Linked DNA regions of Homo sapiens: region 1 is linked to region 2. The links are contacts of gene promoters, found by promoter capture Hi-C in human tissues and cell types (Jung and others, 2019). All regions are on one chromosome and are shown on one strand. The core of a region is centred on a gene start or on the middle of the fragment in contact, and the rest is flanking DNA. Distances in the headings are between cores, read along the strand shown. Region 1 overlaps EXOC6B (exocyst complex component 6B). Region 2 holds the start of CYP26B1 (cytochrome P450 family 26 subfamily B member 1).

What was found. Contacts are between HindIII fragments. The study calls those that stand out against the background at their distance.
Region 1: a fragment that was not itself captured here is called in contact with the fragment with the promoter of CYP26B1 in region 2 in 1 of the 25 tissues and cell types used here (dorsolateral prefrontal cortex).

The regions. Positions count from the first base shown.
Region 1 is chr2:72,718,917-72,725,988 of GRCh38, forward strand. All of the region lies in intron 5 of EXOC6B (exocyst complex component 6B), which reads right to left. It also overlaps the pseudogene RNU2-39P. Among named protein-coding and RNA genes, the nearest start is that of EXOC6B, 100 kb to the right of the region's middle. The HindIII fragment of the contact is 4,829 bases long and covers 1-4,494 here.
Region 2 is chr2:72,142,352-72,149,486 of GRCh38, forward strand. CYP26B1 (cytochrome P450 family 26 subfamily B member 1) reads right to left here and starts at 5,511. Exons shown (of 6, transcript NM_019885.4): 1 at 5,280-5,511; 2 at 1,638-1,862. The coding sequence starts at 5,483. RefSeq lists enhancers at 4,187-4,709, 4,899-5,400. The HindIII fragment of the contact is 9,668 bases long and covers 1,466-7,135 here.

The sequences.
Region 1 (7,072 bases), core at 830-3,329, 570 kb after region 2:
AAGTATCCAAGGCTAGACTTCCAACTATGGCACACAGAAAAGCTTGGCAAATCTTCTATCCAAAGAAAACAAATGTAAACTATCCAAAACAACTATTTCAGGGTTCTGGAAACTAAACAAAAGAGAACAACAAATCAAGAAGTGTTTATTCATAATAACTGCTCAACAGTGGGACTCTGTAGCTTTCTTGCCTGGGGCTACTTCCAACACCCTCCCCCTCTAATTCCTCCACCCCTGGTCATTGGCCATGGCTAGTCATGAAAACCAGCAGCTTTCCTGAGATGAGGGGCTGACACAATTTGGAGCAGAGGGCAAAAAACTCATATTGAGAGATGCTGTTAGTGAAAGTAGCAAACTCAGTAAAAATAAATAAATAAATTAAGAAAAGTCTCCAGCTCTACTGGTCAAATGTTACAATTTGGGTTGGGGCAAACAACAGACCAAAGGACTAATCAGAAATTTAACGGGGAAGTCATAAAAATAAAAGACCTACAGAAGGGCTTGATAAACTCCGCAAGTTGCTAGCCGGCTGAGAGGCTATGCATACCTGCAGGCGACACCTAAAAGGGTCTAAGCAATCCACTCATCCCTGGCTGACTAGGAGGCTGTAGACAGGCACGTGGGAAACCTAAGAAGGTAGGTAAAAGTTTAAGCTGACTTTAAAACTGCTTTTAATGTAGTCCCTAACCCATATACAAACTCATTAGCAAAGACTGGAAACCTTACTCACTCAAGTTTGTTTGAGCATAACCTCTAACCAATCATTAGCTGATGACTATTTAAAAATCAAAGTGAAATATGATACCTTGCTAGATAAACAAAGACAGAAAATTCCTTGCTAGCAGACCTGCCTTACAAGAAATACTAAAGGAAGCCTGAAAGGAAATGACAGCAGATGGTAACTTGAATTCACAGAAAGAAACAAAGAACATGGGAAATAGTAAATACATGCTAAATATGAAAGACAAGTATTTTTTCTCTTTTCTTAACTTCTTTAAAAGATAAGATTTTTTAAAGCAATGATTATAACACTGTATCATTGGGTTTACAAAATATTTAAGTGTAATATATCTAACAATAACAGCACAAAAGAGTAGGAAAGAAATGGAGCTAATGGAAGCAAAACTACTGCTATATATTTACCAAATTTATAGCAGCAGTGACCTCCAGTAGACTGTGATAAGATGCATATTATAATCCATAGAACAACCTCTAAAAAACCAAAAATATATATCATTTGAAAATCAACAAAAGAATTCAAATAGTACACTAAAAATATATAACACAAAAGAAAGCAGTAAAGGAGCAACAAAAACAAAACAAAAAAAGACATGAAAAATAGAAAACAAAGAAGAAAATCCAACCATATCAATAATTACATTAAATGTGAATGGACTAAGCACTCCAATTGGAAGGCCAACATTGTCAGGACTTAAAAAGCATGATCCAACTACATATTGTCTACAAGAAACACACTTAGATTCAAAGATACAAATAGGTTGAAAGTAAAAGAGGAAAGAAGATATGCCATAAAAAAAAGAAACCACAAGGCTGGGCACAGTGGCTCATACCTATAATGCCAACACTTTGGGAGGTCAAGGTGGGCAGATCACTTGAGCTCAGGAGTTTGAGATCTGCCTGGGCAACAAGGCAAAACCTCATCTCTACCAAAAAAATTACAAAAAAATTAGCCAGGTGTGGTGGCGTGCACCCGTAGTCCCAACTACTTGGGAAGCTGAGGTGGGAGGATCACTTAAACCCGGGTGGGCAGAGGTTGCAGTGAGCTGAGATCAGCCCACTGCATTCTAGCCTGGGTAACAGAGTGAGACCCGTCAAAAAATAAAAATAAAAAATAAAGGAAACACAAAAGAGCTGAAATGGCTGTATTAATATGAGATACAAAAGACTTTAAGCCAACAAATATTGCTAGTAACACAGAGGGACATTCCATAAAAAAAAAAGGGATGATATTTGTCTAATAGGAAAGCTTCTATAAGCATAGAAGGACAAATAAAATTAAGATTAATAAAGCTGAATAGGTAGAAACGAAATAAGTTATGCAAAGAAAACATAAGAATAAAGAGAAAAACTGGTAACGTTTATTTGTAATGTGTACCTAAAAGATTAATAGGCCAGGCGTGGTGGCTCATGCCTGTAATTCCAGCACTTTGGGAGTCTGAGGCAGGCAGATCACTTGCGGTCAGGAGTTCAAGACAAGCCTAGGCAACATGGTGAAACCTCTTCTCTACTAAAAATACAAAAATTAGTCGGGCATGTTGGTGGGAGCCTATAATCCCAGCTACTCAAGAGGCTGAAGCAGGAGAATTGCTTGACCCTAGGAGACGGAGGGTGCAGTGAGCTGAGATCACACCACTGCACTCCAGCCTGGGTGATAGAGTAAGACGCCATCTCAAAGAAAAAAGGTTAATAAACTTGAGTTGTTTTTGTAAAAAAAAAAAAAAAAAAAAAAAATGAACAAAGAAAATTCACAAAAGAACCAAAAAGGGCCAACATATGAAAAAAAAAAAAAAATGTTTAACTGATATGTGAAAAAATGCAAATCAAATTGCCAAATATTTCTTAAAAAATAATTTGTAATACATCAGGGGTTTCAATAATGGAATTCACAGCCAGCTGACAAACAGGTTTTTATTAATGACACAAGTTTTCAATGAAGAATTTTAGCAAAACAACTATTTTAAGCAATTGCATTTCCAAACAAAAAAAAGATGCACAGCAGTATGTATAAGCCTCTTGAATTATAGAATTATTTATATTAGCAAATAAAAAAACTAACCTAGATGTCTAATAAGAAGTAGTAAAAGGCTAATAAAATAGCAAAATGTTTACAATATTGTTGAATGAAAATCATTTCAAAAAATAGATCTAATTGCCTCTTGGCCTTTTGGCTAAGATCAAATTTAATATCTGATATATCTTATCAGTTTAATATCTGATACATCCTCTTATCAGAGGACAATATTTATTAAATGGATTTTTGCAGCAGGGAGATAAAATGGGAACTTATTTAGTCCACTTCATGCATCAACCTGGCATTGCAGTACCTCCAGGAATGGTGCTCTAATTGAAAAAAAAAAAAAAAAGATCTTACAAGTATAATCATAATATTCTTCAAAATTATAAATACTTACACATATAAATTATGAACATGTATGCATATATGAGATATATATCACTGGAAACACACACACACACAAAAGTAGAGAGCAAAATGAGAAAAATAAATACAAAAATGTTAGGCATATTTTTCCTTTGGATGGCAATATTACGAGCTAATTTCCTTTGGATGGCAATATTACAAGATAATTTTCTCCTTCATACTTTTAATTTCCTAATTTCCATGTTTCCCATGATATATTTGGTATAGGAAAAATTCAGTTCCATCCTTAAAAAGAAAAAAGACTTATAGCTCTATTTTGGACTTTAAGAATGATTTTCACAGCAGATACTTAAACTCTTCTTGCTCTAATGAATTTAGTACCACAAATGCTAAAGACTAGAGACTGGTTTTACTTGGTTTTTTTGTTTTGTTTTGTTTTGTTTTAATGTTTTCCCTCATGTGTTCCAAAAATCAAAGTCTTTGTTTAAGTAAATGGAGGGAAGAAAGTTTTATTCCCCCTAAATTTAGAAATAAAAGTACAAATATAGTTAAATCTGAAATCATTGCTCTTATTAAAATTTTACAGGCTCAAAAACAATACAATTCACATGGTTTAGTGTAAACAGAATGGTGTTTATACTACAATTAGGTATGAAGAGCTATGTGCAATAAAATGCAATTCCTCTAGAGAGAAACTTTAGAACGGATAGAAAGCCAAAAATTAAGCCAAAAAGATAAACACACTTTGGGGTTTAGTTATATTTTGGAACATTGTTTATAGAATGAGGAAAATTCAACAATGTTGTCTGCAGACGCAAGGCACATTCACTGATGAGACACATGGCTCATGCTGAAAACATCTGGTCTGTCAAATAGCTCCACATTTTTCAAGGCTAATTAGTACAAAACCCAGTGATTCCTGGCAACAAAGAATGTCACCCTATTTCCCCATTTTCCCTTCCCAGTATAGTCACATTTTAACTATAACAAATCAGTAATATTCAAATGTCTAGTCTATTTCAATATCCGTGACAGGTTAAAGAATGATAGCCAACTAACACCTGTATAGCAGGCACCAAAAGAAAAAAAATATGTCCAGTGACCACGGAAATCCAAAATTAGATTTTGATGTACTTTTGACAATCTCCAAACATTATTAAAACTGAATCAAAAGGCAAATTCCTAAGTTTCACTTGTATGTGTGGTCACTCTCTCCCCTCTTCTCATGCAGGCTCCTTAACAGAGATGCAATCAGAACTAAAGTAAAGAAAATAAAAGCAGAGAATAAAAGGGAGGAAGGCAGGGAAAGAGGTTCTAAATAATCCTACAAACTGAGTAACCATGATCAGAATAACAGACATGGTTGAATGCTAAAGCAAGAAGAAGAATATTGATTCCAAGCAAATTAAATTTTGGTACTTTCTTGCCATACCATGGAATTCTTTCACAGTGATGGTTTCTAAAATTCTAGGAAGTGATCCTTGAAAGCAAATTGCAACTATCTATAAGAAATTTTTTAAAATTCAGAGTATGATAAAATATGAAATAAAAACTTTCATCACAGAAAAATATTAGTGTCATTCCTAATCAAAGAGCATCATTAACAAATACGTAATTTCTTCTGTGCGCTAGAGATAGAAAGATGTTCAGATGTCTTTCCCTAGGGAGCACAAAATGCAGTAGAAAAATCAGTATTTATAGCTTAAAAAAAAAAAAAAAAAAGACTTCTAGCTACGAAAGCCTAACAAGGAACAGACATGATCTCTCACTTTATAAACAAGTAGAATATTGGCAAAAATATATGAAACAGCCATTTTCAGACATTGGACATCAGGCAACATAGAACTGCTATCTCTGTAAAAAGAGAAACAAACAAGGTGAGTTTAATAATTACCAGGATTATCTACCTAAAGTTGACTTCTAGGTCATGGGCACAGCCAGAAAAAATCAAAACAGAGCTCAGCAGCCTTGCTGACTTAAAGAATCAGTGATAGTAGCTCAGGAAAGTTGATTCAGCTTGAAGTTGTGTGGCAGAGTTCCCCAAAAAAAGAGCAATGCAGAAAAAGAACTGCAGAAATTTACACAGGGGTTCCCTTGAGTCTGCTAAGTACTAGGACAGGCATAGAGAAAGTGAAATTCCACATGGATAGGTAAAAAGAAGGAAGGAAGGGAGAGAGTGGGAGACCAGCCAGGGGAAGGTAAGATGAACACTTCCACAATCTCAGACAAGGCAGATAAACATTCAAACTCTGAACAGTCAAAATGAAGAGTCGTTGGGGACTCCTGAGCTATTCAGAGTAGATTATAGACGGATCAAGTCTTACTTAGTAAAGCTGAACTTCCCTGGAATAAAGGTGGGCCTTTAAGCAGAGCTTAAAAATTGGGTTTGAAGGTAACAAACTGATCTGCAATCAACTCACCATTCGCTAAAACAAAGCCCAACACTCTCTAAAGGAAAAAAAAAGCACCCCAAAATCCAGAGACTCATCAACATAATGTTCATTAATCAATCAAAAATTTCTGGACATGAAAAGAAGCAAAGAACTGACCTACAACCAGGAAAAACAAAATCAATCTGCAGAAAGATCTAAAAAAATACCAGAAGTGGCAGAATTCGCAAAGGAGTACATAAAAACAGCAATTAGAACAATGTACATGTATGTAAAGAAAAACAAATAATAAAAGAAATAAAACATAAAAAGCTAAATGTAACTTCTATACATGAAAAATATATTATCTGCAATGAAAATGTCACTGAAAGGGACTAAAACATTACACAATGCAAATGAGAGAGATCAATGTGCTCGAACACAGCCATAAAATCTATCTCAAATAAAGCACAGAGAGGGCTGAGGGGGTGGGGAGAAAAGATCTTCAAGTCACCTGTGGGGTTAATCAAGCTGTCCAACATAAATATTAATATAACTAAAGTCCCAAAATGGTGATGGGAAAAGGACAAAAAAAGAGTTTGTAGAAATCAGGTCAACATTTTCCAGATTTTATGAATATTGTAAACCCACAGATCCAAGAAGCTAAACAAACCACAAGCAGGATAAATACACACATGTGTGCACATATTTACACCAAAGTGCACAAAATCAAACTGCCTGAAAACAAATGATAAAGACAAAAGTTTTAAAGCAGCTAGAGAAAAGACATACTACTTACAGGGAGACAAAGGTAAGGCTACTTATACATCTCTCAGAAGCCAGAAGACAATGAAATCATCATGTCTTATAAACTAATGAAACTATAAACCTCAAATTCTATATCCATCAAGGATTTTTTTTAAATGAAGGTAAACAATGAGATACTATTTCACACCCACCAGGATGGCTACATTAAAGTCAAATAATAAGGATTTTTTTTTTTTAAACAGACTCTCACTCTGTCGCCCAGGCTGGAGTGCAGTGCGCCATCTCGGCTCACTGCAACCTCCGCCTCCCTGGTTCAAGCAATCCTGATGCCTCAGCCCCTCTGAGGAGCTGGGGTTACAGACACAGACCACCACACCCGCCTCATTTTTGTATCTTTAGTAGGGATGGGGTTTCACCATGTTAGCCAGGCTGGTCTCAAACTCCTGGGCTCAAGCAATCTGCCCACCTCGGCCTCCCAAAGTGCTGGGATTACAGGCGTAAGCCACCACACCTGGCCTGGGTAGACAATAATAAGTATTGGCTAGGCTATGCAGAAATTGGAAACATCTATGCTGCTGTTGGGAAGATAAAAAGGTGCAGGTGCTTTGGAAAAGAATCTAACAGTTCCTCAAAATGGTAAAACATACAGAGAGACAAAGTGCACCAAATGTTTACCATGCGACCCAGAAATTCTACTCCTAAGTATATTTGCAAGAAAACTGAAAGCATATGCTCACACAAAAGCTTGTAAATGAACATTTGTAGCAGCATTATTCGTAATAGTTAAAAAGTGATAATAACCTAAATGTCCATC
Region 2 (7,135 bases), core at 4,261-6,760:
CACCCCAGCTTCCAGCAGCCCCAGGCATGCAGGACAGAAGAGGACTCTCCTCCGGGGCCCAGAGACTATTCCCACGGACGCTGCAGTCCAGTGTTGCAGGCTCTCCCCGAAATTTTCTTTGTCTCCTGACCTGGTTCAAGTCTCATTCAACCGCTCTACGCCTCAGTGGCCCCTTCCATGAAAAGGGGACAATAATACCCCTCTGGCCAAAGCCTCTGTAAAGCAGAGATCAGGAAGCAGCCATCTCTTTTGGAGCCGAGTCTCCACTCTCCTCGCTCTTTGGAATGGGCCTCTGGTGGAGTCGCAAAGGCTGAGGGAAAAATAAGTGCCCGCAACTTTGAAAAGCCGAGGCTTCATTCTGAAGCCTACAGCCCCTTCCAGCCACTCCCCAGAACTCCTCTCCCGCCGCCCCCAGGCTGTGGTAACTGCTTCCAGCTAGGAGTGGGGCAGATGGAAGAGAGGACTTTGGGAGCCCCTTTCCAGTTCCTGAAATACATGCTGTATAAGGGAACGGGGGTGGGGGCAGGGATGCAACCCAGTCTCCTCGGTTTGACCGCTCCTTCTTTTGTCTGCCGTTAAGAATTACCCTTCACAGGCTGTTCAGAGAACGTCAAGTGCTACAGGATGCGTCGGCTAGTAGAGCGCTCCCCACCTTCGCCAAGACCACAGCACATGCGGCCCCTGACGGAGGGAGTCCGCCTCCCCACCTCCCCGGTCTGCCACCGCTCAGGGACGGGGGGCTGCCTCTCCCTTTCCTTAGGTTTCAAACCTGGGTGAGTCCTCTGACCCAGTGGAAAAAAATGGAGTGGGAGAGGTCGCGCAGCCTCCCTCCCGGCGGCTTAGGGCCCGCCCGCTGGCTCCGCTTTCGGGTTACTGCAGTTCAAACAGCACGTGCCGCCAGCGCTGGGAGCCTAGCGCAGCCGGGAGGGGCGGGGGCCTGTCCCGTGCGCGCCTCCTCCGCGCCTCCTCCAGTCGCTCGGGAAATCCAAGGGATAAACACCCACTTTCCCTTCCTCTTTCGGGGGGGGGTGGGTGCGCTTTGATCCCCGCTCGTGCCTCGCCTGCTCTCCCCCCGCCCGCCCTTCCCCCACGGCCCAGACCCGTGCGCTCCGCTGCCCAGGCTCGCCGCACCTCTCTGACCAGGCCCCGCCACCGCAGCCCACAAGCTGTCCCCAACCTCCACGCGCAGCCGCCTGCCCGCGACTCCCTTCAAGCAGCCTGTGGTGGGAAGGACAGCTTTGATTTTAGAATGATCGGTCTCCAGTCCTCGGAATTCCCTGGGAAACGTGGCGAAAAGGCGAACGCCGGCCAACTGTCCCGCCCCCTTCTTTTTCCAGCTCTGTGGAGCAAGGCAAGGACAGGCTTTGGACACCCCAGACCCCGCACGCTCAAGCTCTTCCAAGCCACCGTTGGGGGTGCCCATGACGCAGTCGGCCAGCAAGAAAAGGGACCAAGAGGAGGCCGGAGCAGGCCCTGGATCCGGACTCGAGGCCTTGTCGGCGGGGAACTGCGGAGTCTTCAAGCATGGTGTGCAAAGGGGGGCACAGATTCGGTAGGGGACATTCCCCGGGCTCCAGGAACTCCTTGCCCCGAGGTGGGGGAGGGATTGCGCGGAAGAAAACGGGCAGAGTTCTTACCTTGCGCTTGTTGCGGTGGATGTCGCCAATGGAATTGGACACCGTGTTGGGGCCCAGCAACATGCGGGTGCTGCGAGGCCACTCGGTGCTCACGAGGTGGTGCTCGCCCATGAGGATCTTGCGCACGTTCTCCGCGCCGGTCACGCGTATCAGCGGCCGCCCCAACAAATGCGTCTTGAACACGTTGCCATACTTCTCCCTCCGCGACGACTGGAAGCCAGAACCCTGCGGGAGCCACACCCGGGTCTCTCTCAGGGTGCACTTCTGCAGAGGGCCCGCGAGGGAGGGGCGGCGGACCCCAACCCGGGGTACAGTCACCTGCCCCCTCTCCCCACCAAACACACTCACACAGACGAGCACGCAGGTTTTATTTTTCATAGCGTGCACAAGAACTGCGAAGTAGGGCCTAGAGGATAATAAATAATGCAAGGAGGCGGAGGCCCAGGGGCACCCCCAGGAGGCTGTTTTTTGGTAATGACTTTCGAGAGGAAAGAGGTATCCCGGACAGCTGGACCCGAAGCGGGAGTCTCCGCCCCCACCCCCACCCCCACACCCCCACCCCGCGCTCGGGAGCCTCTCGGAATAAATATTTCCAGGCTCCGGGCCACGGGCTGGCGAGACCCCGCGGGGTGGCCGCAGGCCAAAGATTATTTATAGCGGTAAGCGGTCGGTGCCCGGAGGCAGCAACTACAGATGGGGGTTGGAGTTTCCTCCGCTCTCCGGTGTGGCCCGCGCAGGGACCCGGCGGCCCTCGGAGGACTCTGCAGGGCGGGGTCACGGGCCCAGAGCCGCGATTTTCCTAATGCATTTTGCCCTGGAAATAACGGAGACGGACTTTGGTTGCCGCCCTGGAGTTTGGAACCCGAGCGCGGGGCGGGGCGGGACCGGGCAGGGCGACCCGCGCAGGTAACCAGATCCCCGGTGGTGGCGGCGCAAGCCGAGGATGGCGGGGCCGGGGCCGGCCGGACTCTCGAAACGGCTGGCGGAGCCGGCCGGGCGCGGGTACCGGAAACCGTGGAGACCTCAGAGGGGCGGGGGCAAGGGCGTCCCGCTCACCTTTGACGTCGGCACTAGTTACCCCACCCCACGTTAACCCTTCTCCTGCCGGGGCAGCACCCGGCGCAAAGGGGAGGGGCGCCACCTGTCTAGCCGCCCCGCCTGCCAGCCCACGAGCGTACCGACTCGGGCTCCAGATCTACCCGCTCCTGCACCCCCGAGGGGACAACTCAGTCCCCCTAGCCCGGGTTGGTCCCCCTCCTCACTTTCCTTTTTTCCACAGAAAACTACTTCCAGCTAAATGTGCACACACGCCAGTACAGCCGAAAAGTGACTCTGCAGAACCCGGAGCCCTAATCACTTTTCCACATGCGCCTCCGGCCCGGCGCGCGACGGGGAACGAGCTGGGAGCGCCCGCGCAGCCAGGAGGGGGGCTGGGCCGCGGGAACGCTGTCCCCCTCCCAGGCTGGAAGGCGGGGATAATTCCCCCTGCCGTGCAGCCCTTCTAGACGGCGTCTACCCCTTTAAGAAAAATCTAGGCGGAGGTGGGGTGCGACAGAAGGGGTGGTGAGGCGAGGGTTTCCCTCCCTCCGTCTGCTATACCCGTCTCCCTCGCTCCGTCTCACTCTCCGTCTTTCCTCTCCTTCTTTTCCTCTGTTTTTCTTTTCTTTCAACACAAAAGTTGGGTTGTGAATTTTCCGAGGTCGCCGCCGCCTCGCCCCCACCCCCCGCCTCTGATCTGCCTAACTATAATTAAAGTGCGTTTTTTGTGGCATTAATAAAGAGTTATTTGTCCGCCGTTTCCACGGTCTTCACAAAGAGTACTTTCATAGGGGCGGCCGCTCGGGCCGCGAGTCCAATTTATACAAAAATGTTGTATTTTTAGCCCTGGGCTCTGTTTAGATGGCGCTCGGTGGAAACGGAGAGCCCTTGGAGGTCCCCCCGTAAAATCTGATAAATGACTCCGAAAAAATAACGCTGGGATTCAGAGGGCTCTCATTAACCCCTTAGGCGCTCCTGTACACGTACCCCCTATTTCCCTCCTCACCTCCAGATCTAGGGCCCCGGGTTGGAGGGATGGGGAGGCTTAGGTTTCCTCCTCCCTAACTTCTGTGCAGGTTGGACGCTGACCCCCAGGGGCTCTTGTGGGATTCGGAGAAAAGGTCATGGGGACCTGAGGGGGGGCAGAGAGGTCAGGAAACGAAGTGGGGGTGGGTGGTGACAGACCGTGGATTCAGCAGACTGGCTCTAAAAGGCGGGAGCCGTTGCCCAAGTTATTTTATTTCCTAAATTCGCGGCCCAAAGCCTAGAGCACCGCTGCAGTTGACACTTTAAGTGTGGTGGCGAGGGAAAGGCTCTGGGGATTTCTTTGCGGGGGGTGGGGGGGTGATACATCCATTGGTTGAAAGGACCCCCACCTCATTGCACGAACAACCCCAAAAAGAGATGGGCCTAATCCGGGACGTGGAAAGACCACAGGGCAGAGGAACTTCGAACCCCCTCCCCGCCCCCGCTCCGCTGTCACTCGTCCCGGGGCAGGGTGAGTGCGTGTGTGCGCGAGCGCGCGGATTGCACGCGTCTGTTAATTTCAAGCCAAGCTTTCGCACCTGTAAACCCACAGGTCGCAGCGCTCACCTTTCGCTTCACCTCTCTAGTGCGGGGATTGTCAGTTTCAGGACATCCCTGCTTCCCCTAACAGAACAAACGCGCGTACACACAAATACACCTCCCGCAGTTACTGCAGAGGCGCTCCGCTCCCCCACCCCAAGAAGAAAACCGGTGTGTATCACATTGCAAAAGCGATTGTCTGGCACTTGATGAGGTGAACTCCAGGTTAATCTCCCCATTACCTACCTGGGTCTGGTCCCTGACGCGCCTCACCCCCGTTATCACCAGCAGAGTGGGGTTGTGCGGCATCTAACAAGCACACACGCACTCTCTCTCTATGGATCCCACACTCACCTCTCCCAAGTTTCCCTCTCCTGCCAAACTGTCCCCACCCAATAAGTAAATAGACCCTTTTCCCCGAAAGCCTAGAGCCCTGGATTCTCATTTTTCCTTGGGTTACCTTCTTCCTCTTCCACCACAAAACAGACACACTCGCGCGGACCGCGGACCAGGGACACTGTACCTGGCGCTGCCGACGGCGCCGCAGGAACACAGTTTTAAATCGGCAATTCAAGCTGCCACCAGCCCCCTCCTCTCCCGACTCAATTTTCGGCTCCCAGCGACACAGCCAACCCCAGAAAGCCGAGGGCGACTGGGGGCTTGCAGCACCGAGGGGAGGCGAAAGCGGCTCAGGACCGGACCCTCCCCCGGGACCGCGCCTCGCTAGGCGCCCCCGGGGCGCTCCACGCCCCCTGCCAGGCCAGCCGCGACCCAGGCAAGTCCATCTTGGGAGCCCCCTCAGGTCCGGGAACCCCTCTTACCAGCCCCCTGAACCTGCGCCGCGGGCGCCAGTGGTCCCGGAACCGCGCTGCCGGCGGGCTGGGGAAGCCCGGGCTGCTGCGGCAGAGAGGAGGGAAGGGGCGGGGCGGGGACCAGTGCCTTCAGGCTCCCGGCGCCCCCTGGCCGGCCCGCCGCTCCGTCTGCCCCGCGCTCGCAGCTAGCGGACCCCGGAGTGCAGCGGAGCGAGCGCGCCCTTACCTGCAGCAGCCAGTGGCCGGTCTCTCCGATGAGCGGGAAGCCCATGGATCCCTTGGGGATGGGCAGCTTGCAGCTCTTGTCGCGAGTGGCGGCCCAGCGCAGCTGCCACAGCTGCTGCGACACGGCCAGCAGCAGCGTCACGGACACCAGGCACGCGGCGAGGGTGGCCAGCGCCGACACCAGATCCAAGCCCTCAAAGAGCATGTTGGCGGCCGCTCGGGGGATTGGCTGTGCCGGCCGCGGCGGGGGAGGGGAGGGCCCGACGGGAGGGGACCGGAGCGGCGGGGGAGGGGAGGCTGCGGCCGGGGGTCCTGGCACCTCCAGCCGAAACAGAGAAGGAGGAAGGGGCCAAGGGAAAGGGAGTGGAGGCTGCGAGGGGAGCGGAGAGAGGGAGGAAAAAAATTGCCTAAAAGAAGAGAGGAAACACGAGGCGACTGGGGTGCAACTTTGTTTGTTTGTTTGTTTGTTTGTTCCTTTATAGCGGGCTTAGGGGCTGCTCAAGGGGTGGTGAGATGAAGCCGTGAGTCAAGCTGGTGGGTTTGCTCTCCCCGCTACCATCACACTCGGAAAACTTTGGAAAACTTTGTCCAGAGGGAGCCTCTCTCTCGTAAGCCCCTTCCCCTGCTCGGAAAAAAAGAAGGGGGCAGAGAGCTAGCAGAGAGAAAGTGCGGTCGATTTGTCAAAAGTATTGCAGTATGGCCCCAAAATTCCTAGGTGAAAAAAAGAAAAAAAGAAAAAATTCCTGAATCCAAAAATTCCAACGAACCCAGAAACTTTGGGGGCGAGGGAGAAAGCTCCCTGGCTGAGGCGAGTGGAGAGGCCGGAGCCTAAAAGTCCCTGGGCTGCCCGGGGCGGCGCGCTCGAGCCCCAGAGCCGCCGCAGCACCCCCGAGGCAGGAGCGGCGGGCGAGGCGGCGAGGCGGGCGCTGCGGCCCGAGCGCGGGTGCGGAGCCGGCGGGCCGCGGCCGGGACGGGACGCAGCCGGCGACAGAGCCCCGGGCGGGCGATGGGGCGGCGGCGGCGGCGGCGGCGGCGGCGGCGGCGGCAGCGGGCGGGAGGGGTGAGGCGGGGTGGGGTTGGGGGAGGAGGTGGAAAACCCGAGCTGGGCTATTGTATCAATTAAGAAAAGGCAGTCCGTCCCGGGACGCGGTCTCTCGGCTCTGGAGTTGCTGCTGGGGGAAGAAATGGGGAAAAAAGAAAGGAAGGCAAAAGGAATGAAAGAGGGGGAAAAGCAGGAGGCAGGATTTCAGGGCTGGTGGTTTTAAAAGCTTCTCTCAATGTGAATTTGAGTCCAAAGCGAGGCGATGCGTGTGTTTATATAGAGGCGGGAGGCTGCGCCGTGGGCGCCCCGCCAGCACCCCCCCGCCCCAACCCGCGCGCTCACAAAGCCGGAGGCGTGGTGAGAGGCCGGGCCCGCGGCCGGAGCTGGAGAGCGCAGCCCGGCCTCCCGCCCCGCCCCGGCCGCCCGCCGCCCGCCGCCCGCAGCCCGCCCGGGACCCACTTGTAGCCGCCGCAGGATCAAACTCAGTTCACCTCTCGCCTCCTCTTCTTTCTCGCCGGCGTCTCGCTGAGCCCAGCGCCTACAGACGGACGAGATGAGACACACGCGCGCGCACCTACGCGCACACACACACAACACACACGCGCACACACACAACACACACACCTCCGCACACACGGTGCGCACTCGCTTAGTGCCTGCTTGGCTTCTAGGCTCCTTCCCTTCCTCTTTTCCTCCTTCCCAGGTCAGCGGTCCCCTCCTCCAGCTCCGAGCAGTCCCTCCTGGGCCGAAGCCCCGGCAGCGGAGGTCCTGGCCGGACTGCCCCCTCGACTGGCAGGCGCCCAAAGCCCTCGAAA